Linked DNA regions of Homo sapiens: region 2 is linked to region 1. Evidence: promoter capture Hi-C in 16 types of primary human blood cells and fetal thymus (Javierre and others, 2016). All regions are on one chromosome and are shown on one strand. The core of a region is centred on a gene start or on the middle of the fragment in contact, and the rest is flanking DNA. Distances in the headings are between cores, read along the strand shown.

What was found. The method cuts DNA at HindIII sites, captures the fragments that hold promoters and counts their contacts. A CHiCAGO score of 5 or more calls a contact.
Region 2: a fragment that was not itself captured here is called in contact with the fragment with the promoter of HOMER2 in region 1 in 1 of 17 cell types (M2 macrophages); the score reaches 5.2 in M2 macrophages.

What each region holds. Positions count from the first base shown.
Region 1 is chr15:82,949,863-82,955,005 of GRCh38, forward strand. HOMER2 (homer scaffold protein 2) reads right to left here and starts at 2,858. Exons shown (of 9, transcript NM_004839.4): 1 at 2,669-2,858. The coding sequence starts at 2,673. RefSeq lists an enhancer at 2,108-2,608. The HindIII fragment of the contact is 1,453 bases long and covers 2,044-3,496 here.
Region 2 is chr15:82,998,831-83,003,945 of GRCh38, forward strand. C15orf40 (chromosome 15 open reading frame 40) reads right to left here. Exons shown (of 4, transcript NM_144597.3): 4 at 1-5,115. Among named protein-coding and RNA genes, the nearest start is that of C15orf40, 10 kb to the right of the region's middle. RefSeq lists a silencer at 1,587-1,881. The HindIII fragment of the contact is 2,175 bases long and covers 1,634-3,808 here.

The DNA of each region.
Region 1 (5,143 bases), core at 1,608-4,107:
AGAACATTTCCAGCAGTGCAGAAAGTTCTGTTGGTCAGATGTATGCTCCTATACTGATGGAGAAGACCCCGGAGAGAAAGGTGGTTAGGAAGGAGAGACAATCTCTGAAAAGATGGGAGGAGGAAGGGATGGAATGGAGGCTACCCCAGAAGAAGGGGCCCCTAGTAGGAAGAGATGAGGGACAGGTCATCCAGCACAGCAGGCAGGTAGGAGAAGGTAGCAGCAGCTGCATACTAGACTAGGTGGTGGCAAAATGAAGACATTCCCTTGGTCAAAGGTGCCTATCTTGTCAATTGAAAGGGAAGCCACGGGGTGTGCCTAGGAAGGGGAGAGGTCTGGAAAGGGGAATAGGTATGAAATAGTTGCCTTAGGGAGTAAGAACACAAACTCACTGGAGAGGCCACACTTAACACAGAACACTTCGCAGAAGAGAAGTGGAAAATGGTAGTGAACATTTGAGGGAGGAGAAGCATCTCAAGTTGGGGGGAGGTAAACTCAGATAGTTTGTTTTTTTTTCCCTTAAATCCTAGTCCTGTCTACACAGCAGAGCCATGACGAAGCTGTAGGATCGCAGCAAGGTTTTCTACTAGCTGCCCTTTCAAAAAGTTCTTCCCCCTCCATCCTACACAACTCTCAGAAAGGATGACATTGGTTCTATTTTCAGTTAAAACGGCTCCCTCCACCCTCCTGTCTGAATTGCTTCCCCAGCCCTTAGCTGCATCTCAATTTACGACCATGGCTTGTATTTTCACATAAATAATAGAAGACATGGATCTATTAAAAATGGCAGAGGTAGGTAGGAGTTACAAACCAGCCTTTATCTACGAGAAGTGAGTAATATATACATTTATCGAATGATGTTAAAATTACATGAAAGACATATTCTGTGTTTAAACAAAATCCCCAAGCGTCTCCTCCCTGCTTCTCCACAAACAAAAATTATTTTTTGACATTTTCTTTAAGGTTTTATGAGTGAGTAAACATTTTCATTTCCACAGAACTATTTGATCTCAACCACAGAGTTTCAGTACTTGTTTTTGATCACACAAGTACGGTGGATTGGTTTTGTGTTGGCCAGGGGGAGGGAGGGCCAGAAAGAGAGTTAAAATTACCGGATCCCTTTTATCTTCCATTCTGAGACCTTACATTTGCCAACTCCTTTTTCCCTGTACATTTTTTTAAAGTATGAAATCTGAGAACCTCAAAGGCTCTCACTGCTCAAAGATCAGCCTTTTCACAGTCCACTGAGGACTCACTGGAAATGTTACAGAAATACGGCCTGCCAACTTGGGTGCCTCTGGGTAAAATCACCCACAGTTGCTGTTCATGTGAAATCTCCTAAATGTAAGCACACTTCTTCAGCCCTCGCTGCTCATCTCGCCTCCTCCTCTCTGTCACCCACCTCTGTCATGTCCAGTTCATGTTGGCCCACAGCCCTCACACTTCCATTCCTCAAAATTCCTCTTGGCCTGCCTCTGATCCCCTCACACACTCTGCAGCTCCCATGGCTAAGACTCACCAGGCAAAATGACTCCAGAAACTTAACCTGGAGTACGGTGCAAGAAAGCCACTGACCCAGGGGGGCTGAGCCAGGGCACCAGGACAATCTTGCTCCTTCCACTGCACTCTTGCCTTCCCAGGCCCCACCCATCCCAAACAGGAAAGCAAGATCTCTAGACCCTTGGAGCAGAAGCATTTGAGTCCTGCGAAGGGCTGTTGGAAGAATGCTGGGTTCAGCAGCAGGGAACAGAGAGATTTAGGAATTCTGGTTCACTTACCCGCCTCCATGCCCACGTCAGGCAGTGGCAAGGCCACCCCTGCTACACAAATGCTCATCAACTACACAGCCTGGGGGAAGTCACCGAACCACTTTGTGCCTCAGTTTCCTCATCTGTAAAGTGGACATAAGTGTCCCCTGAATACGTATGGCAAACCGTCAACGTGTGCCCAAATAGAGTGAGCAGATGTAAGGAGTTATTGTGCTATTAGCACAGTGGCTCCCAGACTCACAGAGCCTACTGCTCAGAGAGACGCCGAGGGGAAAGCTTAAATTACTTTATATACTCAGAAGCATTAGTCACTTCGACAGAGTATTTCAACTTCCCTCCTGAGCATCTACTCAGTTGTTTCAAAGACTGAAGCCTCACCTAGGTTCCTTATAGACTTCCATCATCTTCAGCATCTCAAAGCAGATCCAAAGTCCACTATTCCTACGCTGGAGGTTTATTATTATTTGATTATTTCCAGGAAAACTTCGATTTCCATTTTGCTTGTAATAAATCCAAACGTGGAGAACGACAAACTGCTTAGACTCACACAGGCCCTGGAGTTGACTGCGCCCAGGGGCGAAGAGACCGCGGAATGGCCGAGGCAGGAGGCCGGCCAGGGCACCGGTCCCCGTCAGGTGCCCCCGTGCCCGGGCTGTATGGGAGGGGAAGGGCCACGGGCTCCGCGCCCAGGCCAGGGTGCCCCTGCTGGGTGTCCGCGTGCCCCGGCGGAGGGCGCGGGTCAGGTGGCCCCAGACTCCCGGGCGCAGAGTGTGCGCTCGCTCCGGCTTGGGGAGGCGGGGGCCGGCCCGCCGGGAGGCTCCGAGCCCGGTTACGCCAGCCGCGGCCCCGCAGTCCCTCCGGAGGGGCGCGCGGAGAGCGCGCGGCGCGGGCTCACTCACCCCATCTCCGGCGCTGCTCCGGCGGCCGCTCCGACGGGGCCTCTCGCGCTCGCTCTCCGCCCGCTCGGCAGCCGCTCCCCGCGCGGCACATGCGGCGGCCCGTGCGCGCCCGGCTCAGCCCCGGCGCCGCTCCATTCCGCGGGGCTGCGCGGCTGCCACTGCTGCCACTGCCGCCACCGCCGCCAGGCGCGGGCGGGCGGGGGCTGGGCGGCCGCGCTGGGGCGGTGCCCGCCCCGCCCTCCCCAGCCGCTACCCCCGCCCGGCTCCTTACGTAACCTCGTGGCCCCCGGGCCGCGGCAGCGAGCCAAGAGGCGGGGGGCGCAGCACTGTGTGCACCGTCCCCCGCGCAGCCGCGCAGTCGCCGCTTTTCTCCCGGGCCACCCAGTCCTCGGTGCCGGCCCCGCGTTGGCGCGCCCCCGCCCCACGCCGACCCGGGGCCCTGGCGCAGTGCCATCAACATCCTGCCTGATGGACTTAAAGTCCCATTCACACCTGGCGGGGACTTTAGGGCTACCTTTACTTTGCAGATAAGGGAACCGAGGCCTGGGGAGGGTAAGTGATTTGCCCAAGGTCACACATTCAGATTAGAGTTCGTTCGGGTCTCCAGAGTCTGAGATGGGCATAGCTGTGCTCCTCCTTAAAGCCCACCTTCATCTTCCTGCCAGTTGCCCGGCCGAGTGGCCTTAAGGTACCCGCCACCGTGAAATTTCGGAAGCCAGCCTGGCAGAGAAGAGCCTACAGGCCGCGGCAGATGCTCTGGGCTCTTTCCTGGATAAAAATGAGATGAGGGCTCCCACTTGAAGGGGCAGTTTTAAGGCGGCTTCATCAAGCTTGGTTTTATCCTTAGAGCGAGGGGAATTAGGATGGCAAAAGTAGAACTTGAAGAAGAGCAGGCTCTCTTCGTCGCCTTTCTACCTATCAGGTCCTGAGTTTCTACCAAAGGCTGGCACTGGGACTAACCTAACCTTCATCCCCCGGGACTTCCACGGGATCATCTTCTGCTGGGAACACACCGCCCACATAAGCCTGGCATCTCAGGACAGTAAAAAAGTCAAGGGACAGGTCGGGCGCGGTGGCTCACGCCTGTAATCCCAGCACTTTGGGAGGCCGAGGCGGGCGAATCACGAGGTCTGGAGATCGAGGCCATCCTGGCTAACACGGTGAAACCCCGTCTCTACTAAAAATACACACACACAAAAAAAATTAGCCGGGCGTGGAGACAGGCGCCTGTAGTCCCAGCTACTCCGGAGGCTGACGCACAAGAATCGCGTGAACCTGGAAGGCGGATCTTGTAGTGAGCCGAGATCGCACCACTGCACTCCAGCCTGGGCAACAGAGCGAGACTCCGTCTCAAAAAATAAATAAATTAATTAATTAAATACATAAATAGCCGGGTGTGGTGGCGTGCTCCTGTAGTCCCAGCTACTCCCAGCTACTCGGGAGGCTTGATGCAGGAGAATCGCTTGAACCCAGGAGGCAGGGGTTGCAGCGAGCCGAGATCATGCCACTGCACTCTAGCCTGGTGAAAAGAGCCAGACTGTCTCAAAAAAATAAATAAATAAATACAAAATAAGTTTGTAAAAAATAAAATAATCTTGGGAGTTTCCAAATCCTCCATGCATAGTAATCAGCAATATCAGGAAAGTGAGCTTGTAGAACACTGAACAAGTCATTTATCAGGTAATACCTGAGGATTCTGAAGTGTTCGAATAACTTCAAAGGCAAGCCACTGAAATCAGAGTTTTTCATTTTTATTTTATTTTTATTATTTTTTTTTTGAGACGGAGTCTCACTCTGCTCACCCAGGCTAGAGTGCAGTGGCAGTGGCGTGATCTCGGCTCACTGCAACCCCCACCTCCCAGATTCAAGCGATTCTACTGCCTCAGCCTCCCCAGTAGCTGCGACTGCAGGCGCATGCCACCACGCCCAGTTTTTTTTTTTTTTTGTATTTTTAGTAGAGACAGGGTTTCACCATGTTTCGATCTCCTGACCTCGTGATCCACCCGCCTCGGCCTCCCAAAGGGCTGGGACTACAGGCATGAGCCACCGTGCCTGGCCGAGTTTTTCATTTTTTTAAACTACAATCCACAGTAAGAAATATATTTTACACTACAACCTGCAACCTGGTACATACTTCAGCACATACATACTATGTCTATAGGTATATCGATATAAAATAGAAACAAAAAGTTATATAAAACAATGTTTATCCTCTCACTTGCCAGGCAGGCATTCAGACATCATTCTGTTTTGTTGTTGTTGTTGTTGAGACAGAGTGTTGCTCTGTCACCAGGCTGGAGTGCAGTGGCATGATCTCAGGGCACCACAACCTCCGCCTCCCAGGTTCAAGCGATTCTCCTGCCTCAGCCTCCCAAGTAGCTGGGACTACAGGCGCGCACCACCACCCCAGCTAATTTTTGTATTTTTAGTAGAGACAGGATTTCACCATGTTGGCCAGGATGGTCTCCATCTCTT
Region 2 (5,115 bases), core at 1,471-3,970, 49 kb after region 1:
GTAGGTTGTAGTGAGCCGAGATCACGCCACTGCACTCCAGCCTGGGCACCATTGAGCACTGAGTGAACGAGACTCCGTCTGCAATCCCGGCACCTCGGGAGGCCGAGGTTGGCGGATCACTCGTGGTTAGGGGCTGGAGACCGGCCCGGCCAACACAGCGAAACCCCGTCTCCACCAAAACCAGTCAGGCGTGGCGGCGCGCGCCTGCAATCACAGGCACTGGGCAGGCTGAGGCAGGAGAATCAGGCAGGGAGGTTGCAGTGAGCCGAGATGGCAGCAGTACAGTCCAGCTTTGGCTTGGCATCAGAGGGAGACCGTGGGGAGAGGGAGAGGGTGAGGGAGAGGGGGAGGGGGAGGGGGAGGGGGCTCATTTTTATTTATTTGAGACAGCGTCTTGCCCTCTCACCCAAGCTGGAGTGCAGTGGCGCAATCATGGCTCACTACGTCGAACTCCTGAGCTCAAGTGATCCTCCTGCCTCAGCCTCGCAAGTAGCTGAGACTACAGGCACACACCACCATGCCTAGTTAATTTTTTTAATTTTTTTTGGAGAAATGGGGTCTTACCACGTCGCCCAAGCTGGTCTCAAACTCCTGGCCACAAACTATCCTCCTACCTCAGCTTCCCAAAGTGCTGGGATTACAAGCGTGAGCCAACATGGCCAGCCTTACCTTTTACTTTTAAATTATGTTAGCCACATTTCAAGTGCTCAATAGCCACATGTGGTGTGAGCAGCTATCACGTGTACATGCCACCCAGTACGGCTGTAGAAGAGAACTAAAGGCTAGCTAGCATTTCTGTTGACTTGACTCACTCCCTTATTGTCCACAGTGCCCCAATCCCCCTAGGCATCTCTGGGGAAACCTAAGGCTTTGAAACAGTTTGAACGTCACTGCGATAGTAAAAACACATCACAGATTAGTTTTCTGTAGAAATGACCAGGGAGTACGTAACTTGTGGCTGCAAAGTTTGGGGATTCTTCCCTCCCCAAACTCTATCTAGGGGACCGATGGACCCTGAGGCAGACAGGATTATAAAATGCAAAAACCCTTAATAACTAAATTATGAGGATTGTCTGAGGAATGCCTATGTGGGTAGAAATAGGTGGTCTTCCTGCAACCTAGAAAAAGGGAGTTCCTGTACTATGAAGGATCATTATCTCCAGTGTTGTCCCAAAAGACCTTCTGTGGCTGGCTGATACCATAGGTCCATCCCTGCAGCAGAAATGGGAGCTATAGATGGTCATAGCTCCCTTACCCTGGCCCCTAATTTCCCTGGCTCTGATTCCAGGCTCTCCAAGCAGCCTTCAAATGATGATTCTCTTAAAGAGATTTCCCAAAGGGACAGAATGTTCTCACTAGCAGATCCCACTATACAGTCTATTTGGCAGTTGTGTTCTTCACTCAAGTTAATAAGCTGGCATCTTGATAAGAAATTAGCTCCTTGCCAATTGCCCAGCCTAGATCCATTTTCAGAAACACTGGCTACGTGGATTTCTGAAACCTGCAGAGTTAAGGAAGGAACTCAAGACCATGCTGACTCCACCATGGCAATGGGCTGAGACTCTCACGAACCCAGCTGGCCCCAAGTTAACAACACTCCGACCTGAGCTAAATTTAAGATACAAGGGGACTAAGCTTAAGGAATGGCTCTGAGAAAACGAGAAGGATCACAGCATGTGAGCCCGTAGTCAGGCACTGCAGACTACCTAATAGTGCTGTTCACTACAAAAGGAAACGAGTTTCAGTTTGTGTGGCTTTTTGCTGTTGTGTTATGGTGCCACCTCTTGGATGTAAATTGAAATTCTAAGTTTTTAGTCACTAGTTACATGCATTAAAACAATTTGAATTTGGGGCCATGTGGGTTCTAAAATTTATACTCTGCATTACAGCTAAAGAACTATGTAACCAAATCCCTGGAATCTAGGAGGGGGATGCTGACAGCCCACAGCCCAGAGAGCTGCCTCCTAAAGTTTGAGCATTTAGGTATTTGGAACTTTATTTTTCAAGATGGAATCTCTGTCGCCCAGGCTGGAATGCAGTGGCATGATCTTGGCTCACTGCAACCTCTGCCTCCTGGGTTCAAGCAATTCTCAGGCCTCAGCCTCCCAAGTAGCTGGGACTACAGGCATGCATTGCCATGCCCAGCGAATATTTGTATTTGTAGTAGAAACAGGGTTTCGCCATATTGGTCAGGCTGGTCTTAAACTCCTGACTTCAAGTGATCCACCCGCCTCAGCCTCCCAAAGTGCTGGGATTACAGGCATAAGCCACTGCACTGGCCTAGGTGTGCACTGCAAAGGTTCCACCTTCATCCTCTGGTTATTGCTGTCCCTCCCCTAACCGAGAGGAAAGTGTGGAATGGCTCACAGAAATCAGAAGTCTGAAATCTCTGCTCCTGCCTCCAGGGCATAATGAGCCAGGCTGTTCTTTCCCAGGATCTGTCGAAGTACAGCATAGGCAAACCACCTAGCAGTGTCTGTCAAGTAAGCAACCAAGTTAATAAGTGATTAATACATCATGTTTGCACAAGTAATTATCATTTATTAAGGTGCGGGTGATAGATGACAGATGCAGTGCTAGAACATCATATGTCGGCATAGTTGGATAAATATTTTTCAAACCTTATTCATAGGCTGCTTCAAATCCAGGATTCTCAGGACAGCACAGGACAAGAAAGACAGTGTAATCAAGTCACTATAGACTGCCTAGCCAGTACTCACTTGAAATTAATGGGAGTGAGCAAAGCTAGAACCATGTCATTAGACAAATGTTACGGAGGCTGAATATTTTGTGTCTTGGGCACTAGGTCACTGGGTCTACTTCAGTATTTACAGGGGAATACCAGGGCCCAGATGATGAAAAGTACATTAACTGAGCTTCTACAGCAGGTCAAGGTGCCCAAGCCTTAGCTGTGATCTCTTAACAGTAGGAATAGTCCTGTGTGAGACAATTAAGTTGTGAGGCTGCTGTAGACTATCTTGTTTGCAGTGGGGAAAAGGGAATCGTGTTCTGGGAATACAGCCCCTGGGCCAGTTCCTACCTCCAACAGTAGTTTGTTTTGTTTTGTTTGTTTCTGTTTTTTTGTTGTTGTTATTGAGACAGAGCCTTGCTCTGTCACCCAGGCTGGAGTGCAGTGGTGTGATCCCGGCTCACTGCAGCTTCTGATTCCCGGGTTCAAGCAATTCTCCTGCTTCAGCCTCCCAAGTAGCTGAGATTACAGTCATGTACCACCACGCCCAGCTAATTTTTGTAATTTTTAGTAGAGGTGGGGTTTCACCATGGTGGCCAGGCTGGTCTTGAACTCCTGACCTCAGGTGATCCACCCACCTTGGCCTCCCAAAGTGCTGGGATTACAGGTGTGAGCCACCATGCCCGGCCCCAAAGTAGTTTTTGATGACAGAGTGTCCCCATATCTTCTTTGTTACAAGATACTGCTACGTTTCTCAAAGAAAAAAACTCACTAGGCAAAATGTTCCCACGTTTAAAATATCACCGTTTAAAATGAAGTAAATAGGTTATCGTAGTAGAAACTGGTGGTTCCTCTCCAGCATCCATTCCTCTCTTTGTAACTTTTCCCAATTTTATTCAGGTATCCAACTCTCTCTACTTCTTTGCTTCTGAGTATGCTGACCCCATTTCCACCTCTAGGATGGGCCTTAATTGGCCTGAAACAATTAGGGTAATTCTTTCTTCTATAGTTACTGCTTTAGGGAACTTGTGTTATAGAATGGCATTCCCTGATCACAGGGGCTGGCTTAGAAATTTCATGTGACTTGATTTGGGCTGATACAAGGGAAGGCTGACTGAAAGCTTCTGGAAAATACCAGAGCTCCTAGGAGTGGCCTTTTCTCCTACTGCAGGGGTTGATACGTGAATATGAAACCTGGTTGGCCTTTTGTCTACATGAAACAAGTGGGCCTGAGGATGAAACTGGCACTGCAGAAGATTCAGGGGAAGGAAAGAAAGCTGATTTTTTTTTTTCTTGAGACGGAGTCTGCCTCTGCAGCCCACGCTGGAGCGCAGTTCGCAGTTGTGCGATCTTGGCTCACTGCAACCTCTGCCTCCAGGGTCCCGGTTCACAAGCAATTCTCCTGCCTCAGCCTCCCGAGTAGCTGGGATTACAAGCATCTGCCACTATGCCCAGGTAACTTTTGTATTTTTAGTAGAGACGGGGTTTCACCATGTTGGCCAGGGTGATCTTGAACTCCTGACCTCGTGATCTGCCTGCCTCGGCCTCCCAAAGCGCTGGAATTACAGGCGTAAGCCAACACGCCTGACCAAAAGTTGATCCTTTTTTTTTTTTTTTTTTTTTGAGATGGAGTTTCGCTCCTTTTGCCCAGGCTAGAGTGCAATGGCACGATCTCAGCTCACCGCAACCTCCAACTCCCGGGTTCAAGCGATTCTCCTACCTCAGCCTCCCGAGTAGCTGCAATTACAGGCATGTGCCACCACGCCCAGCTAATTTTTTGTATTTTTAGTAGAGATGGGGTTTCTCCATGTTGGTCAGGCTGGTCTCGAATTCCCGACCTCAGGTGATCCACCTGCCTTGGCCTCCCAAAGTGCTGGGATTACAGGTGTGAGCTACCATGCCCGGCCAGGAAAGTTGATCTTTTATGATATCATTTTATGACATTCTAACAGTGATCCATGTAAAATCCACAAGTAAAACGGCTTTACAGCACACATGGCAATGGTCTTGAGAAAGAGTGGGAAAAGCTCTTAAGACCATGTAAAACAGAAGCACATTTGCAGGCAGTATATGGCACAGTTTAGAAGACAAAGCAGCTGGGCTTAAACCAAGCTCTGCCATTAATGTGCACTGTGATCTCACATAAGCCACCTTTTCTTGCCCTTGATACCTATTTGGTACAAGTTAAGAGTTGTACTAGACGAGTAGCTTCTCTTTCACTGTCTGGGATTTTTTCTTTCTTTTTGAGACGGAGTCTCACTCTTGTCGCCGAGGCTGGAGTGCAGTGGCACCGTGTGGGCTCACTGCAACTTCCGTCTCCTGGGTTCAAGCAATTCTCCTGCCTCAGCCTCCCGAGTAGCTGAGATTACAGGCACCCACCACCATGCCTGGCTAGTTTTTATATTTTTAGTAGAGATGGGGTTTTA